Linked DNA regions of Homo sapiens: region 1 is linked to region 2. Evidence: promoter capture Hi-C in 16 types of primary human blood cells and fetal thymus (Javierre and others, 2016). All regions are on one chromosome and are shown on one strand. Each heading gives the region's core, a stretch centred on a gene start or on the middle of the fragment in contact. The rest is flanking DNA. Distances are from core to core; before and after follow the strand shown. Region 1 has its middle 46 kb from the start of FSTL4. Region 2 holds the start of CTB-3M24.3 (a long non-coding RNA gene).

The links. Contacts are between HindIII fragments. The CHiCAGO score rates a contact against its expected background, and 5 or more counts as called.
Region 1: a fragment that was not itself captured here is called in contact with the fragment with the promoter of CTB-3M24.3 in region 2 in 1 of 17 cell types (endothelial precursors); the score reaches 8.9 in endothelial precursors.

What each region holds. Positions count from the first base shown.
Region 1 is chr5:133,656,021-133,661,644 of GRCh38, reverse strand. It overlaps a transcript of FSTL4 not described here. Among named protein-coding and RNA genes, the nearest start is that of FSTL4, 46 kb to the right of the region's middle. The HindIII fragment of the contact is 296 bases long and covers 2,640-2,935 here.
Region 2 is chr5:133,383,832-133,389,663 of GRCh38, reverse strand. It overlaps CTB-3M24.3 (a long non-coding RNA gene), which reads right to left and starts at 1,782. Exons shown (of 3, transcript XR_948794.4): 1 at 1,694-1,782; 2 at 1,085-1,191. All of the region lies in intron 4 of FSTL4 (follistatin like 4), which reads left to right. The HindIII fragment of the contact is 3,410 bases long and covers 1-3,370 here.

The sequences.
Region 1 (5,624 bases), core at 1,538-4,037, 270 kb before region 2:
GCAGCCTCTATTCAAAATACCTTTCTAACTGGAGAAAATAGTGACATCATCTCCTTCATGATGATGTCATGCCACTATGAGGTTAGGCTGTAATATATTAAAACTAATACTAATGTTTAATGCTGACACTACATCTATTACTTACACTAATACAAATGCTGAGCAATTACCTTTTTGAGCTTTTATTAAGTACCAGCTCTGTGCTAAGTGTGTGCCAGGCATGGTGCTGTTTAATCCTCACCGCCACCGAGTGAAGCTCTTACTATATCTTTACAAACCAGGAGCCTGCAGTTCAGAGCACTTCGGTGGTTTTCCCAAGGTCATAGTGACAGTAAGCGGTAAAATCAAGTTTTAAGGCTGTGCACGGTGGCTCACGCCTGTAATCCCGGCACTTTGGGAGGCTGAGGCGGGCGGATCACCTGTGGTCAGGAGTTCGAGACCAGCCTGGCCAACATGGTGAAACCCCATCTCTACAAAAAGACAAAAATTAGCCAGGCATGATGGCGCGCATCTGTAATCCCAGCTACTTGGGAGGCTGAGGCAGGAGAATCGCTTGAACCCAGGAGGCAGAGGTTGCAATGAGCTGAGCTCGTGCCATTGCACTCCAGCCTGGGTGACAGAGCAAGACTCCATCTCAAAAAAACAAAAGTAAAAAAAAATAAAGTTTTGAACACAGTTGGCTGTCTCTAAAGCTAGAGCTCACGAGCTCCTCTCCTGTTTCCATACTGGTTAGTGTCTGTCTGTTCATTAAAACCAGCGTGGATGTCAGTCAAGGCAGGCCTCACTGGATTTACTCCTTGGAAACAATAATAATTGCTTTTTTTCCTTCAAAGATTTCTTAACAGACTCCTTCCTCAATCTATCAAAATTAGTGACTATGACTGTGTGTAAAAGAAAATTAAGACACTGAGCAAATAGGTAGGCAGGCTTTGTAGAAAAGTAGTAGGCCTCAGGAACAAAATGACATCAGTCTGCAGTCACCCAGTGGCACAGGCTGGGGAGAGGGACAGGGTGGGCACCTTATGAATCCTGGGCATTTGAACCGAGACAACTTCAGTTCTCTGTAGGCTGTAGACACGTAACTCCATGCTGAGCACAAGCACCATGGTCTTACTCACATCTGGGAATGTTCTGCCCATAGCCCCATAGGATGCAGGGGGCCTGTGGCCAGCAGGAGGGCAGCAGGTAAGGCCAGTCTTTGCTGCTGGCACCACAGGTGAAGAAGTTATGTCCTTCCAATCTCGGCTTAGCTGTCACTTTGTACAGGAGGATTTCCCTAATTCCCATGGACCGGGCTGGGTTTCCCTTGCTGGATGCTCCTAAGGTGCCCTATGCTTCCTCTACTCTGTTGTAATTGCTTTTTAAGCTGCTGATCTTGACTGTGAGCTCTAGGAGGGAAAGGAGAGGGTCTCCTTCTTCACTGCTTTGTCTCCAGGCCTGAAAGAGGGCCAAGAACACAGTGACTGCTTAGTAAATAAACATTAAATAATTTGGAATGTTTTCCCAACCAAAAGAAGAAAAGAAAATGATTTAGGGACATTACATGAAAGAAACCAATGAAGCCTAGTGTTTTTTCCTCACTGTTTGAATTTGAGCATATTGGGTAGACAAAACTCCTGGCTTCGTTCTCTAAGCCCCTAACTCTTTCTTTTTGTCAACTTATTTCTCTCTGTCTCTTTTTGTTCTGTTCTTTGCTGACCTCTTTCTCCCTCCTTTATTTCCTTCCCTTAATCCCTTTCTTCTCTCTATAACTTGGGCTTGTTTTTGTCTATTTCTCTGAATTATTTTTCTAGAGGAAAAATATTAATAGATATTGATAGCTTAAGAAATTGATAGGGGGGAAACAGTTCTTGATAGCTTAAGCACAACTCCTAGAAGAATAAAAATAAAATATTTAACTTTTAAGCTAGCAGAAGAAAATCCCATCTATTTAATAGAATATAAGAAAGGAAAGGGGAAGAAGAAGATGTGGAAAATAGAAAACATAAAAAAAGCAGAAATAAATGTTCATATATTTTATAATTAATATTAACATTAATATATTACAATGTATTTATAATAGGAATTACAATAATAGTAAATAATTTAAAGTCATTCATTAATCAAAGTATAATGACTCTCTAAGTGAATTTAAAAGACAAAAACCAAGCAATCAAGATAAAAACCAAACAATAGATTAGAAACAAAAGGATACAGAAAAGATAGGAAAAGATATACCAGAAATAGGCCAGAATAGAAATTTTAGTATCAGAAAGACAGTAATTTAAGGCATAAACTATTAGAAAGGGAAAATGAGGATGCTATATATTGGTAAAACAAGTAATATGTCAAGAAATAGAATGATAACGAATATGTACACCTCTGATAATGTGTCATCAACAGACATACAGCAACAACTGACAGAGCTGGGGTGGGAAATAAATTTAAAAAATAGCTGCAGGTTTTAATACACAGTCTCAAAAACTAATACTTGAAGCATACAAAAATAAGCAAGGATATGGAACATTAGAGTAATATAATTTATCTCTTCATATGTATCCCAATAAGCAAAATACTTTCTTTTCATATGCATATAGAACAAACACAAACAAATTATAATGTGGTAAGCCCAAAATAAGCTTTGCTTAGATTTAAAAGCTTTATAAGTTTAAAAGAATCAACATCATGCATGCAATGTTCTTGACCATGATGCTATTAAATTAAATGTTAAAACCCTATATGTCTGGAAATTTTAAAAATACTCCCAAATAGCATTGGGCTATACAATAAACCAAAGAGAAGTTGTTAAATACTTAGAGGTGAATGAAAATTCACCATTTGAAAGCAGCACATGCTAAATTATGTGAGTCATGTTCAAAGCAGCACTCAGGTAAATTTATGGCTTTAAATAAATTTACTAGAAATTAAGAAAGAATGCAAGTAAGACAGTTAAGCTTTATCCTTAAAAAATTCAAAGGGGAAACAGAGTAAACCCAAATAAACAAGAAAAACGTAAATAAGAAGATAGGCAGAAATTAATAAATGCAGAGAAAATAACAACAATGGGAAATGAACTGGAAGTGTTCTTCAGAAAGACTAGTAAAATAGATAAGCCTGTGGTGACACTAATAAAAGAGGAAATGCAAATTTTTAAAAATGTGAGATAAAAAGAGGAACTAGATAAAGTTCTGGAAAAGATCTTAGTATAACTATAACTCTTAAACTGAAATGAAATCATTCACATTTTTTCCAAAAAATTTCCAGCTCCATATAGTTTTACAGCTATGTTCAGCAACACATTCAAGGAATAGATGATCCCAATCTGAAAATGTTGCTACAAACCATCCGAAATCAAGAGCACACTGTTCACATAACTTTGTCAGGTTAGTATAAACCTGATCCTAAAAATGAATAAAAACAATACAGTGAAAGAATATTTTAGGTCAATTTCCTATGAACATAGATGTGAAAATCCTAAATATGGTATTAGCTAATCAAATGTAACAGTTTATCTTTTAAAACATGCAATCAAGTTAGAATTTAAGAAAGTGTAAGCATTAAAAAATCTATAACTGTGATTCAGTCTATTAATGGAATAAAAGAAAAATCTCATGATCATTTTAGGAGATGCAAATGAAATACCTGAGAAAGTTCAACACCTATTCATATTCATTATTTTAAAATATACTCAGAGGAAACCAGAATAAATGGAAAATTTCCAATCTTAACAAAGGCTATTTACTAAAATCTAATTTTTTAAAATGTTATTTCTTGTAGCATTATTTATGAAGGAGGACTTTAAGGGAGCCCAGGTGTCCCTAGGAGAAAATGTAGTCTATACATCTGTTTTAGAAAAAAACTACACAGAAATTGGTAAAAAAAAAAAAAAACAAAAAAAACAAAAAACAGTAAGCTAGATTTACATTTAGTAATGCAAATAGATCTTAAAATAGTGTTGAGTAAAAAAGGATAATGAAATGTATAACATTTTGAATTATATAAACATGTAAAACAACACTACATATTTTTCAAGGATACCCAGATATCTAGTAACATTAATACATACATTAGAGAAGGTGCCTATGGGCAGAAAAGAACAGATATGGAAACAGGGAACTAGGAGAAATAATAAAATAACAAAACTAGAGAAGAGCCCTTCATGAACCAATGGACATTGTGTGCACTGAAGTGAGCAATGTGATGTACTCAACTCTGTGCACCTGAGGACCAAAAGAAGAAAAGAAGTCCCTGTCCACCTCATATAACATGGTCACTTGGATGCTATGGTAACTACTATCTCTTGGGGCTAACTCTTTTCCTGGTCATCTTAGAGTTATTGGTCTTCCTACATCACAGCTCTCCACCGTGTTTCTAAGTCCACCATCCTTCTTGCAAACTATGTGCCACTCAATGCCACACGTGCTACAGACTGCCCTGTGTGTCTAGCGGGGGCTTTCCTTGAGTGGCAAGGAAAGGTGGGAGGGGTTACAGCACAGCGTAGCGGACTTCATCACTCTCTTTTGAACCCCAGACTCCTGTATTTAACAATCTACTTACTAATAGGCATCTCAGACTTACCAAATGTCCAAACCTGACTTCTGAATTTCCCCACCTGCTGCTCTGAACTTGAATCTCCTCTCATCTTCTCCATCTTAGTCAATGACTCTTGTCTTTCACTTATAACCCCTGACCATTCCATCATTAATTCTTACCAACAGTAAACTTAAACAATAGCCAGAATCCAACCACAACTAAAACACCACTCTAGTGCAAGTCAACGTATCCGTCACCTAGACTATTGTCAGTCTCCTTCCTGGTCTTCTTTCTTCTATTCTTGCACCCTGCAGTCTATTCTCCATCCAACAACCAAAGTGATCTTTTAAAGACACAAATCAAAGTCACTCTCCTGCATCCCCATCACACCTAGAGTAAAATGCCAATTCCTTATCAAGGCACACACATCCTTACTTGGCTGGGCCTCTAATGCCATTCTCAACACACTGCCTTCATCAATCCAGTAGCCAGAGCCTTCTCTTTGCTCCTTGAGCACACCAAGCCTGTTCTCTCCTGTGAGACTTGACGTGTGATGTCCCTTCCACCCAGAACGCTCAAGCAGAAGCTGTTGGTGCCTTGGCTGTATTCCCCCTGAGTCTCAACATTTCTATGTGTTCAGCCAGACTCCCACCTGCCAGAACCTGTGCCTCCTTGCCCAAGGGCTTTCTCAGATGAGAACTGCCACTGCCTGTGCAAATGGCAGGTCATAAGTCCAGAAAATTACTGCCCTTGACAGCAGCCCTCAAACAATGAAATGGGAATTGTTGTATAAACACTCCAGCTCCCTCAACCCTTTGGGTGGGAAGGAGACTTAGAGACATGTGTTTTATACTAGATCCCAGAGTTCCCAGTGGGATTAAGCTCCATTTGCCCACAGTGGTAACTTGCTTGACAACACAGTCCTTGTTGGCTTCTTTCTCTTCCCTGTCTCACTTTCTCACTCCCCTACCAGGGCCTCCTGAGATGTACCTCTTAAATAAACTACCTGCCCATGAATCCTTGTCTCAGGTTTGCTTCTAGGAGAATGCAGACTAAGGTAGCCCCTACCCTGTCAGTCCTCAACTTAAACATCATGTCTTAAGAGAATCAGC
Region 2 (5,832 bases), core at 533-3,032:
GGATATGAAGGGCAGAACCTTTCTGGATAGGTGGGTGATGGACAGGAAAGCAGGGGCGAGGAAGATGTCTCTTATAAAGCTACAAAAGAAGAAATACCCTAGACAAAGGAGGAGGTTTCAGAAGGGGACACCAGGGTAGGGGCAGGGGTGTCAGAAAGGGTCAGTGACACATCATCCTAATTCCGCAGAGAGTGAGCTTGCTTGTTCTCCTTCCCACCCACCTGCAGAACTCCAGATTTTCAAGGGCGTCTCTCAACTGTTTAGCCATGAATGCTGGTTACAGGGAAGTTAAGACCCCTCTCCAGATGCAATATGTCGTGGCAGTGACCATGGATTTAGCTGTAATTCCAGTCTGGTCAATCTCACTGGGCTGCAGTGAGAGTAAACAGAGGTGAAGCCTGAACAGACCTGTCTGAACACGAATGAAAGGGAAGCTGGCTTCTGCAACAGAGGAGGAGGAGAGCACACACTTAAGATGCAGCAAAAGAGCATGCTTTGGGGAAAAATTATTACAAGAAACAGAAGCTCATTTTAGACAGCAACTGTGTTCTACTCCCAATGCAAGAAAACATGAACTCTGAAATGAGATAAAAAATGGGATTGTAAATTGGCTGAGCCACAGTCAAAAATAAAATGGAAGCTGGGGGAGGTAAGGAAAGAATATAAAGAACCTGAAATACAATTGCAGAAGTTCCTTCTCCACTTCAAGCAGTCAAAGGAAAGATTAACCATACAGAAATCATAGTTGTTCCAATACAGGGAACAAACTTGAAAACCGCTCCCCAAATACACCGAGAATGAGAAGAAGATTTAAAAAATACTGTGGGAGAGGATGATAGTTATGTAAGACAGAGATAAAAGATTTAAAATAATAGTGATTGGTTATCTTAAAGACCTCAGAGCAATTCAAATGGACACAATAAGCAAAGAGAGATCCAAAAAAATAAGTGCCCTATACTGAAAGATCTATCAAATAAGTCAAAATATAATTGCTGACATTTTAGGTTTTGAAAAAAAAAATTAAAGTGATCTGAAATATCCAGAGAGAGAAAAACAAAGCAGACAAAAAAAAAAAAAGTCCTACCTGGTGTTGCACTGGGGGCTCTTGAGTGGTTTCAGCTGACCGGCTTGCCCAGGGGCAGCTTCTCCCCTTCAGTTACATTTGTGTCAAAGGTGAGTCTCAGACACTGTCTGGTAGGAAGGAAAAAAAACATTCTGTTCTTGGACTTTTCTGCGATATTAAGAAGCAAGAAGGCAATGAAGAACATTGGTAGAATTTTGGGGTGGTAAGACCATGATGCAAGAATTCTACACTTATCAAATGGTGATCCATGTATGGAAAGAATAAAAAGTATTTTCTGCTGGGCAAGGGTTCAAATAATACACCATCCGTGTACTCTTGGCTGGGAAAAAAAGTGAAAGATGAACCCTTCACATTCTACAGAGAAATCAGAGAATCTGACAAAGAGGAACTCAAGGCTTAGGTGAGCACAGAGGCTCTTGAAATGAGAAGGTGTCTAAATAACTTTTTCAAATATAGTTACCAAAAATTGCAAAGGGTAAATGATGAGGTTAAGTGCGCTTAATTTTCTTGACTGACTTATTGGAATTTCAACAGATCCTGCATAATCCTTGACTCGGTATGTTAAAAAGCATACATGAGGGCAATATTCCATCAGAGCCCAGAACAAACCTCATGCAGCCCCAGACAAGTGTCCATGGCTGTTCCCAGGTGATCTGGGAGACTTCACCTCCTGCCTTCACTGGTGTATCCAGAGACCATGGGAAGGATCAGCCACTGACTGACGTGTTCGACCTACGGTCGGGCCTCCCCGTGCCTTCATCTCGGTGGCTAGAGTGTGCTCCCCAGAAAGCATGCAGGGCTACAACTGAAGTGGAAGAAAACCGCAGCGGGTCATAGTGTGTCTTCCTTGTGTGATGAAGCCTTTGTTCATGGGCGTGTGTCAGTATGCCAGTGACATGGTCAGGACAATTGGGAAGGCCTGAACTATTGGTTCTAATGTTGCAGTCAATACAATGTGATTAACCAATTAGAGAGAAATGCATAAGAGCCAAATTCTGTTGCCAAGAAAAGGCAAAGAAGGTAGAAGAGCTGCCCTGTTAAGAGATAGAGGTAGAAGTTCAACCCCCAAGGCAATAAAGGGCCACCATGGGACACAGCCTTGCAGAAAAGAAGGAATGGCCATCAGGGTGGGGTGGATAGGATCATGGGAAATACACATTCTCATTCACGGAGAATGTGCCAGGCTGCCAGCCCACCGCCAGGGGCTGTATGGACGTCATCTCATGCACTCCTTTTCCTAGTTGGTGTTTACTGAGAGGCAAAGAGAAGCCAGATAACTTTCCCAGTTACTGGACTTGTAAATGACGGCACCAGTACTGGCACCTGCCCATCCCCTTTCAGTGTGTGTCAGTGGCCACTCCCATGATTAGGAGAGATATTTGTCAGGGAGTGGGGCTTGACCTGAACCTGGAAGAGTGGGTGGGTGGGACATGAACAACCAGGTACAGGGCAGGGGCAGCAGCAGAGGGAAAGACTTCATGCAGCTTTGCTGATGTTATGGCTGCATTCCTTCCTCCTCCACCAGACTTGGCACTTGCAACTGATCAGACAGCAGGTACCTAAAAACTCTCACTCCCCTAAAGGGAAATGAGGAGAAGTTAGAGTTACCGCAGACATCAAATATTGTATATCCAGTTGTTTTAATGAAATGAATCACATTTACACCCATCTTGTCTTTGAACTTCAGTGGCTGTCTCCACGTGGCTATGTGACGTGACAACCCCAGTGAGCACATTACAAAGGAAGAAAGTCCCCGCCAATGCCACGTGAAACACAGGGTGAGGGCTTCGTTGCACAGGAAGAAAAACGTCCATATTTCTCGGTCACACCTTTCTGTCTCTCCACTTCTGCCTGGGTTCCTTCTCGCCAGTGTCCCCACCTCTGCCCCCTGCCAAATTTCAGTGACATGAAGATCTCGTTTATGTGCCAGGCTTGTCTCAATAAACATTCTCCTAGCAATTTTAAAGGAACAAACTTTCCATATTAAAAACTTTTGTGGTTCTCAGGGTAAACAACTGTGGGTATCAGGAAGACCTGAAGAAATGGGGAATCTATACAAAAGGAAGGCAAAGTCCACTGCTGAGAAATGTGGTTTCTCTCTGTAAAACATGCTGACAGAAGCCCATATACTAATTTAGAGAAACAGTTGGCACAAAACAAGATGCACAGTTGAGCGTGCCTGTCTAGAAGGCTGGGAAGGAAAGAACTTGAGTGAAGGCACCACCAGGATTCCTGTGGCTATAGCCCCACGGAGACTCTGCTGGCTGTGATTATAATCATCAAGCTTTGCAGCAAATGATTGTGATTTTACACATCCTACCCTTTTTAAAAAACCAGAGATTGGATGAGAATGGAGGGCAGGGTAACAACTAACTCAAAGAGCCCATGTGACATGCCAGGTCCAAGGCTGAGCATTCTGTGCACTTTCTGTTCTTTAATTCTGTGACAGCCCTTCAGGGTAAGGACTGTTATTACCCCTAACTTGGCAGGTGAGGAAACTGAGGCTCACAGAGGTTTAATGACTTGCCCAACACCACTCAACCGGTGAGGAGGAGAGCTGCAATAAAGACTGATTTGAAATGTTAAATGTTGTCTTTGCTCTGTCTGCTCTGCCACATCTCTTACATGTATAATTTAAAAAAAAAACACACACACATAGTGATTATCATTCAGCAACTGGGCAGATTGTGCCTGCACTCTCACTTGTGTTCTGAAGGCAACTTTCTGCACGTGTAGCTGACATGTGCCCGTGTTGTTAGCCACTCTTGACTCGACAAAGAAATTGTGATGGTTTTTGAAAATCTTTGTTTCTTTGTTGTTTTTGTTCCTTCTACTATGCCACACTGTCTATGTATATAATGATTCCTGTAATTAAAAAAGGAAGGAGGCCTTGCAGTGAGCACCTGCGCAGTCTCTCCCTTTTTCAAAATTAGCAAAAAGCCGGGGACTATGTATGGCTCACCTCAGAGGAGCCAGTGGACAGGGTGGGCTCAGGACCGAGCTGCTAACTAGATTTGCTGCCAGTGGACTCAGCCTCTGTGCAGCCCATGTTGGGTTCTAGGGGGACCAGGAGCCTGTGGGGCAGCCCGAGATGGCAGTCTTGGAAAAGGAATTCAGGGTGGGTGTGATCAGGGATAGAGCTTCTCTAGTGTACATCACACAGGAACCCATGAGTGGTACCGGCATGTGCTCTAAACCTCATCCTGCCTGTTTGTTCACACTCCTGAGGATAGTAAAGTAGTGGTCCCTGTTTTCAACACTGCACCGATCAAGTTTCATTCTTGTGTTTCACGATTTCATAGAAAGATCTGTGATTCTTGCATCTGGGCCATTCATACCTTGGCAGGATTCTGCAATTCCGCATTTCATTGCTTCAACAAACAGTGCTGAGTGCCTGCTGTGTACCAGGCCTAGTCGAGGGCCCGGTGGCGGGGGTCCAAGAGGAGTGTGAGAGGGCCCTGCCCATGGGGAGCTGAGAGGGGACACACACCCCCTGCCTATTGTAAACCAGGGTGGGGAGCGCGACAACGGAGCACGTCCAGTCTGTTATGGAAGGAACAGGGAGGCCTCCAAAAGGGGGTGCCATCTGGACTGAGTACTAAATGATGAGAAATGGGTTAGAGAAAGAGGAGGGGAGTCTTCTAGGCCAAGGGTTAGGATATGAAGCCAGCATGGGGAGCCACAAGCCAATTGGTGTTTCTCCAAATATAGAGTTTAGGGCAGAGAGAAAGCAGCAAGGGCAAGCCTGGAAAGGAGCTTTGGCCAAGCTGGGGCCAGACCTGGACCATCAGGTTAAGGAGTGTGGACTTTCTCCTGGATGCAAGGGGAGGCAGCATTCTAGGGTTTTAAACCATAGGCCTGGTGTTCAGAAAGATCACCTGTGTTGCCCTTGGGACAGAGTGACCCTGGAGGCAGGGGCCCAGCAGGAGGCATCGAGGACATTCAACAAAGCCACACAGAAGCCTGAATCGGGGGAGTGGGCAGACCGGAGAATCACTTAGGAAAAATACAGTCAGCAGGACCAGGCACTGATTGTGAAAATTAACCATCACACCTGCCCACCCCAGGATGGTTCTAACTGCCTTCCTCCATCCTTAGCCAGTCCTCGTCTAAGCAGAAGTACAAGTCATCTCAGCGAGGCCTGAGTGAAATCCTTCAACTGACAAGAGCCAAGTTTCCCATTTGGGCTGGGCCCTGAACAGTCCTGGGAAAGTGTCAGCCCTTCGTCAGGGCGCACCCTGTCACCACCCCGTCTGGAAAGCGGGCCACTGACTCAGAAAGGAAATGTGGCTTGGATGCCGAAGTCAGAGTGTGATTCTCCTACCCTGTGGCTCAGTCCCTGTCCTGGACTATAGATGGATGGAGTGTTGCACTCTAGGGTCATTGCACCTTCCTTTCCTGAGTTGCAACCTCCACCTCCAGTACGCAGGGGTTCCGCAGGAGGGTGGGGAAGCAGCTTGATTCCAGAAGTCTTTACCTCTCCTCATCCACCAGCCTCAGAGGTGCTTTCTGCCAATCACATTTTTCCCAGCAGTCTTCTTTTCTTCCAAAAGCTTAATAATTTAAACAATATCCATTTGAAATTATATTTAAACACTTAAACAATGTAAGATGCAAACTTAAGGGGAGAAAGACCAAAGGGGAATTTAGGTGTCGGATTTCTCAGAACAAAAGAACAGTCCACAATTGGAGGGAGAGGAGTGGCAGAGCACAGAGGCTGCTGATTAGATCCAAGTGTGCCTCCTTTC